Regions from separate parts of the Homo sapiens genome. Here region 1 is linked to region 2. Evidence: promoter capture Hi-C in human tissues and cell types (Jung and others, 2019). All regions are on one chromosome and are shown on one strand. The core of a region is centred on a gene start or on the middle of the fragment in contact, and the rest is flanking DNA. Distances in the headings are between cores, read along the strand shown.

Region 1 (3,202 bases), core at 55-2,554, 620 kb before region 2:
GGGCAGAATAGAAGTCTCAGCAGTGGACCAGGCATGGTGGCTCACGTCTATAATCCCAGCACTTTGGGAGGCCAAGGCGGGTGAATCACCTGAGGTCAGGAGTTCAAGATCAGCCTGGCCAACATGGTGAAACCCTGTCTCTACTAAAAATGCAAAGAAATTAGCCAGGTGTGGTGGTGCACACCTGTAATCCTAGCTACTTGGGAGGCTGAGGCAGGAGAATTGCTTGAACCCGGGAGGTGGAGGTTGCAGTGAGTGGAGATCATGCCAATGCACTCCAGCCTGGGCGACAGAGCGAGACTCCATCTCAAAAAAAAAAAAAAAAAAGTCTCAGCAGCAGGACTCACATATCTCAGGAAACATGAAGCAATAGGGAAATGATGTGGCAAGAGAAAAACAGGGATGAGTGTGGGAGCCTTTGGCAGGGACAAGACAGCACAGTGCAGGGGTGGAGCTCTGGGCATGAGGGGTGTGGAGCAGTTTCAGGTGTGAGAAAAGGCAGTGACATCAGGCCTTGCCATGCTCTAAGTGAGAAAACCTTCCAGGCTGGTCATTGCCTCCCTTTGCTCTCATTTCAAGCTCATGGAACAATGATGAGATGCTTCATTCAGGCTGGCAGGAACCTGGTGCCATGAGGGAGTGTCAGGTGGGTGCTAGAAGGCAGGCATGAGCTTTCGAATTACAGGAAATGAATCCTGTAACAGGCCTTCTCCCACCCTGCTGCCTACAAATAGGCACACTGACATTCTGGTTTGTATATCAGTCACTTATGAGCTTGGTTAGTGTGAGTCAGTATCCCTCAATAGGAGTGATCTCCAGTGGGCTGACAAGACTGAGCTTCTGAACTAGCAAAGCTAAAAGGCCCAGATGCCAGTTTGTAATGCCAATCCATGGCCCTGCCTTGCCAGGCCTCTGGTCTCCTCTCTGGGAAGCTTCTGTTACATTCTGAAACCCAGCTCTCCACAGGAAATTCTGCTCTCTGTGACTGGGAGCCAGCTAGGCTTCCCAGTGAAGTACCTGCAAGAGATGAAATTAAAAAAAAAAACATTATAGGCCAGGCATGGTGACTCACACCTGTAATCCCAGCACTTTGGGAGTCTGAGAGGCTGAAGCAGGTGGATCACCTGAGGTTAGGAGTTCGAGACCAGCCTGGCCAACATGGAGAAACCTTGACTCTACTAAAAAAAAAAAAAAAAAAAATTAGCCAGGCATGGTGGTGCTTGCCTGTAATCCCAGCTACTTGGGAGGCTGTGGCAGAAGAATCACTTGAACCCAGGAGGCGAAGATTGCAGTGAGCCGAGATCGCACCATTGAACTCCAACCTGGGTGACAGAGTGAGACCCTGTCTCAAAAAAAAAAAAAAAAAAATCATAAAACATTCCTGGCTTTTGCAAGCTGGAATCACAAATTACAGAGGATTAGAGGTAGAAGAGCCAAGCCTGTATGAGGAAACTAGGGCCCAGAGAGAAAGAGAGAGACCTTCCAGTAGCCTCACAACTGGTCGGGGCAGAGCAGAAGCAAGAATCCAGGCCTCTTGACACCAGGACGGCAGCCCAAGTTTCCATGCCAGGCCTGGCTGGGAGCTCTTTGGAAAGCTCCTCCTTACCCTCTATTAGTGGCCAGGACTCAGGCTCCGTCGAGGAGTTCCATACAGTGCAGACAGGGGCAGCTGGGTGGGGCTTCATGGAAAGAAGCCTGGCCTGGGCCCTGAATGAGTGGCAGAAGGCAGGGGCCTTGGGAGAGGCGTTGAAAAGGGAGGGGACTGCATGAGCAGAGGTGTAGGTTGGGGGCAAGCCTGGGAATGAGTGGGCAGGAGAGGCCTCGGCTCCATGCAGGGTGGGGATGTGTGTGGGATGGGTGGGCAGGAGAGGCCTCGGCTCCATGCAGGGTGGGGGCAAGCGTGGGATAGGTGAGCAGGAGAGGCCTCGGCTCCACCCCTCTGTTCTCCGTGAGGTTGTGCTCTGCCCTCCATCACATCTTTCCTGCATCACGTCTTTCCTGCCTGTCTCCCTGCCTGGCAGGTCTACTCTGTCCAGGTGCTGCAACGCCCCTGCCTTTCTCTTCACCACCCAGAAGAACACTCCCCTGGGGACAAAGCTCAAGTATGAGGTGGACACCAGTGGCATCTACCACATCAACCAGGAGATCTTCCGCATGTTTCCCAAGGTGCTGCTTTGGGCGGGGGCGGTCTGGGTGGGGCGAGGGAGCCAATCCAGCAGTAGCCCTCCGTGGCAATGTCCCTGGGGTTTTGCCTGACTCACTCACGGTCCTCTGGACTCAGTTGTCTTGGTCCTGGTTGACCAGTTGTCTGAGGTGCAGAAGCCCACCCTCTGGATTTCTTTGGGGGTTCTGTCTGAGAACCATGACTGCCAACTGTCTATGATTTGAGTGACTTTTGGCGAGAAAGTGACTAGAAAATTCTGGGTATTGCATTGCTTGCAGAGGATATCCTGCAGATAGGGAGAGAATGACAACACATTCGTCCCCCTCCTGAGGTAGGCACAAGAGCAAACGCACATGCAGAAGTTGTGAGCACAAGAAAGAACAACCCAGTGCAGATCTAGACTCTGAAAGATTCAGCTCACTTGATGACCGTGGGCAGATATTTTGTCTTTCAAAGCCTCAATCTCCTTATTTGTAACACTGGGGCTTGGACTATGAATAGATTTGGCTGATTATAACAGAACTTCTAAAATATCAGAGTCTTAATCAAGATAGATATTTATTTTTTTCCTTTCACATAAAAGAATTCTGGAGGTAGGCTGTGCAGGGCTGGCACGGTGGCTCCCTGGTCATGGAGGACCACAAAATGAATGAGCCGCAGACCTGAATGGTTCAGATCACTGACCTTGGCCATTGAGGACCGCAGTGAGTGAGCTGCAGACGTGAACTGTTCAGATCACTGATGCTGAGCACCTGCAATCACCTGGGCTGACGGTTGGTGCAGACTCACCGCACTACTCTCAGAGAAGGGGCGCTGGAACCTGCGCTTTCAGCCAGTTCTGGCAATTACCCAGGTGTGGTGGCGTATGGACTCTGAAGAGGAGGAAGGTTGCATGGGTGTGTTCATAACCACATTCAGGAGAGCTCTGGGCCCAGGACAGCATTCAGTGAATGTAGTTTATAGAAATTCTGAGTGGGGGCATGTAGAGGTCTTTTTGGAAGAAATCTGAAGGCCTTGGCTGCCTTGCTTCTTGGCTGA
Region 2 (3,640 bases), core at 879-3,378:
CCTGCCTGGTCTTGAACTCTTGACCTCAGGTGATCCACCTGCCTTGTCCTCCCAAAGTGCTGGGATTACAGGCATGAGCCACTGTGCCCAGCCATCTCTTCCTCTTCTTATAAAGCATAAAGCCACCAGTTTCATCTCCTGATAACCCATTAATCTACTAACCCATTAATCCATGAATGGGACTAGTGGCCCTCGTGACCCAATCACCTCTTAAAGATCCTACCTCTCTCAATACTGTCTCATTTCAGATTAAGTTTCAACAAGAATTCTTGGAGGGGGCAACATTCAAACCACAGAAGTTAGTAAAATATCCTAAATATGTCCCTTGGATATAGCACACACTTTGTTTGTTTTTTTACTCACAATACCTGCCCCAGAGATGAGCTGTTTGAGGAATGAAGAATATTTTCCAGCAGCGTGGATGACCATTTGCAATTAAAAACTTTGTCACCAGATGGCGGAAGAGGGTTAAAATTCAGGGAGCTTAGAGTCTGAGTCGCGAAAATCAAGCACAATGTACTGTGAGAGCTTGTGAAACGTTCTAATAACTTAAAATTATACATGTATTAAAAATTAAAATGTGACAATTAGAATTGTATCTAAACTATTTTTCCAGAATATTTAAAACTTCCAGGAAAAACCTTAGTGGTGTCTTCAGCTCTCCCGCTTCTATGTCCCCAGTTTGTGCCATTTCTTACCCCCTGCAGTTAAGCCTAGCTTCCTAGTGCCTACCACGTCCTCTGCTGCCCCTTGATGGTTCTGCCAGGCTTCTCTGCCTTCCTTCTAATCTCACTGCTTTCAAAGGATATGAGCAAGTACGTAAATGGATGCATCCCTTGGAGATGCTTGGTGGCTGGAGGCCACCTCTCCATCTTTGCAGTTGTGGATGACTTTATTGGTGGGAGTTCATCTGAGTGGGGCTGGCTGCAGTTTTATGGAGCAGAACTTGTTCCAGGTGCTTCACATAATTCTAGCAATTGCCCTTTCACTGTGTCTGGGTGTAGCTAGAACCTGCTCCAGGGGTGAGTGCTTGCTTCTCCAGGCTGGGCTGGTGCCAGTCTTGGCAACCTTGACCTTTATCCTCCCCACTTTGAGCACCTATTCCTCTGCCCAGGATGGATCTGCCCCAGGAAGGATGTCTGTCTTTGCATCTATTTAGAAGGGCAGAGCTCTAACCTTGAGCTCTTCATCCCTTAAATAAACTGTGATCTTGGGCAAGCCATTCAACCCCTCTGGGCCTCAGGTTGGGCTTCGGGCCTGTCGCACCAGGCAGTACTTTGTCATAAGCCCTGCATTACTATTAAAAGTCATGGCAAAAACCGCAATTACTTTTGTACCAATCTACTACAATGCAGAGAGGGGTCTGACCTGCCCTGGGGTTTTATTTGTGAGGGTGGAAGAGTGGAGGGAGAAGAAGGAATCTTGGGCCCCTCTTGCTGGGGTGGAATGGGCAGGGAAGGGTCTTGCCTTTTGAGAATGGAAAGGGAGTCAGAGAGCGGCTGAGCTCCTGGAAGCCCTGTTAGGACACCACCAAGTGACTAGAGTCAAGGGGAAACAGCAGAGATGACCTCTCCATGACATTTTAGACTAAAACGTGACCCCATTCATTAAAAACACCTGCAACAACAAAAAGTAAAATAAAAAATGAACCGTCCCCCAGGGCCTGATCTGCAGCAGGTGCCGGTGGGGCCCGCCGTGAAGCCAAGGCGTCTGCGGGAGTTGTCGGCCCCAGGCCTTCTGTAGCTTAAACCGGGTCCTCGCGACCATCTGATCAGATCCCGTCTATCACCCCGCAGAGCCTGGATTTCGTGCTGTCCAGGGGGCCTTGTGGGCAGGAACCCAAGCCAGGACCAGTTATTTCCAATACCCAAAGACTTCCAGAAGGAGGCAGCTAGCTTCGGGCTGATATATTGATCGTGGCCCGACGCTGTGGGGCTTTAAATGGGCCTGGGTCCGGGTGCGGGCTGCAGCCCCTGGCCGGGTGAGCGCCGAGGGTCCCGCCCAGGTCTCGCGCAGGGAGCGCAGAGCGCCGACGGCGGCCGTCGCAATCGGGAGTGGTTTAGGACCCGGGGGCGGCTTCCCTGCGCGAGTGTGGAACGCAGAAGTTGAGTCTGCGGAGCCGCGGGCAGTGGCAGTCAGGCCTCCCCGCTCTGTGCTACCTGCGGCCCGGCTCTCCTCCGCGCCCCCACTCGCGCTGCGATGACGCGCTCACTGTTCAAGGGAAACTTTTGGGTAAGTCGTGGGGCCGACAGCGGATCGCGGGGCTCAGGACCCGGCCCGGGCGGGAGGCCAACGCGGCGGGCGTGGGGGGCTCCCCAGCTCCGGCGCCACTCGGTGACCGCGCGCCCGGGGGCTTGGCGGAGCTCGCGCGTGAAGGGATCGGGGCCCCAGCCCCACTGCTCGAGGGGCAGACTTGGAGCGGACGCCGGGCTGCTGTTCCCTCTCTGTCCCCCGCTACCCACCGCGTGCCCGCGAGTCCCGGGGGCTCGGACTCCAGGGCCCACCCTCTGCCGCCCGCGCCCCCAGCAGCGCGTGCTCCTGAGGACGCAGAGAGCCGAGACACCTTAGAGTCAGGACATCAACCCCTCCTCTCACAGGCGAAGCAGAGACCCTTAGGGAGGCGAGACCCGTCCGGGGAGAGTCTCTGCCGGTCCCTGGAGCTGAGCCGTGAGAGGATCTGGGGGGATCTGGTGTGGGGGCTTGTGAGCTTTACCGGGTTGACAGCAGCAGCTGCCCCCCGGGATCGTCCTTTCCAGGAAACGTACAGCATAGAGGGCTTCCCTTTGCTGGAGCTTTCCCTGTTCTACAGCCTTGTTTCCCGAGCCCCCTCCCCAGGCCATTGCCCCAGCCCTTCCGTCCAGGCCCCATAGCGGGGCTGATGGTGTGGGAGACCCTATAAGCTGGAGGGGGTACCCCACCCAGCCCGGTAGGGCCAGCCCAGCCTGGAGGGAGCAGGTCTGCCTGTCCCCCTCCTCTGTCTAGTCCTCTTCCCTCTGTCCTCTCACTCCCCAGGTGCCCCTCAAGGTCCATGCCCCCTCATTCAGAGGAGCTGTCCTCATCCCTTTAAGACAGGAGCAGGAGGCTGCAAACCTCAAAGTTGACCGCAGCTGCCAAGGGGCCCTGACTCCTTACTGGGGCTCCTGCTTGCCTCCCCCCACCACCCACCCAGGTAGCTTCACAGCTGCCTAGATGGTCCCTCTACCCCACGTGGGCTGCAGGGTAGAGAAACCTGGCTGGGGACCTCAGGGACACAGTTGAGACTGTGCCTGTGAGTCCCTTCACTGGAGTTTGTGAGGTCCTTCTGGGGCACTACTCACCCTAGGGTGCAGGGTGGTGGCAGCCTCACAGAGGAACCAAGGGCACCACAGATGGCTCTCACGGGAGGCTTGCGAGTTTTTCAGGTAGAATGGAGGACTGGGGGATCCCATGGCAGGCACTGTGGGAAAAAGGCTCTGTATAATACAAACTGGAGAATGAGATGTGGGCCCCAGAAATAAGGAAGTCAGCAGAGGAACTGGTTCGTGGAGACATAAGGAGAAGGAGGCAGACGTGATACTAACAGTATTTAGTTCAGGCACAGTGGCTCATGCCTGTGATCCCAGCACGTTGGGAGGCCGAGGTAGGAGGATTGCTTGAGGCC

Evidence for each region. The method cuts DNA at HindIII sites, captures the fragments that hold promoters and counts their contacts. A contact is called where the count stands out against the background at its distance.
Region 1: a fragment that was not itself captured here is called in contact with the fragment with the promoter of PSTPIP2 in region 2 in 1 of the 25 tissues and cell types used here (heart left ventricle).

What each region holds. Positions count from the first base shown.
Region 1 is chr18:46,687,739-46,690,940 of GRCh38, reverse strand. ST8SIA5 (ST8 alpha-N-acetyl-neuraminide alpha-2,8-sialyltransferase 5) reads left to right here. Exons shown (of 7, transcript NM_013305.6): 4 at 2,022-2,166. Among named protein-coding and RNA genes, the nearest start is that of LOXHD1, 32 kb to the right of the region's middle. The HindIII fragment of the contact is 3,606 bases long and covers 1-3,107 here.
Region 2 is chr18:46,070,748-46,074,387 of GRCh38, reverse strand. PSTPIP2 (proline-serine-threonine phosphatase interacting protein 2) reads left to right here and starts at 2,128. Exons shown (of 15, transcript NM_024430.4): 1 at 2,128-2,232. The coding sequence starts at 2,200. RefSeq lists silencers at 1,833-1,992, 2,123-2,172, 2,213-2,592 and enhancers at 1,722-2,223, 3,443-3,502, 3,543-3,640. The HindIII fragment of the contact is 22,245 bases long and covers 1-3,640 here.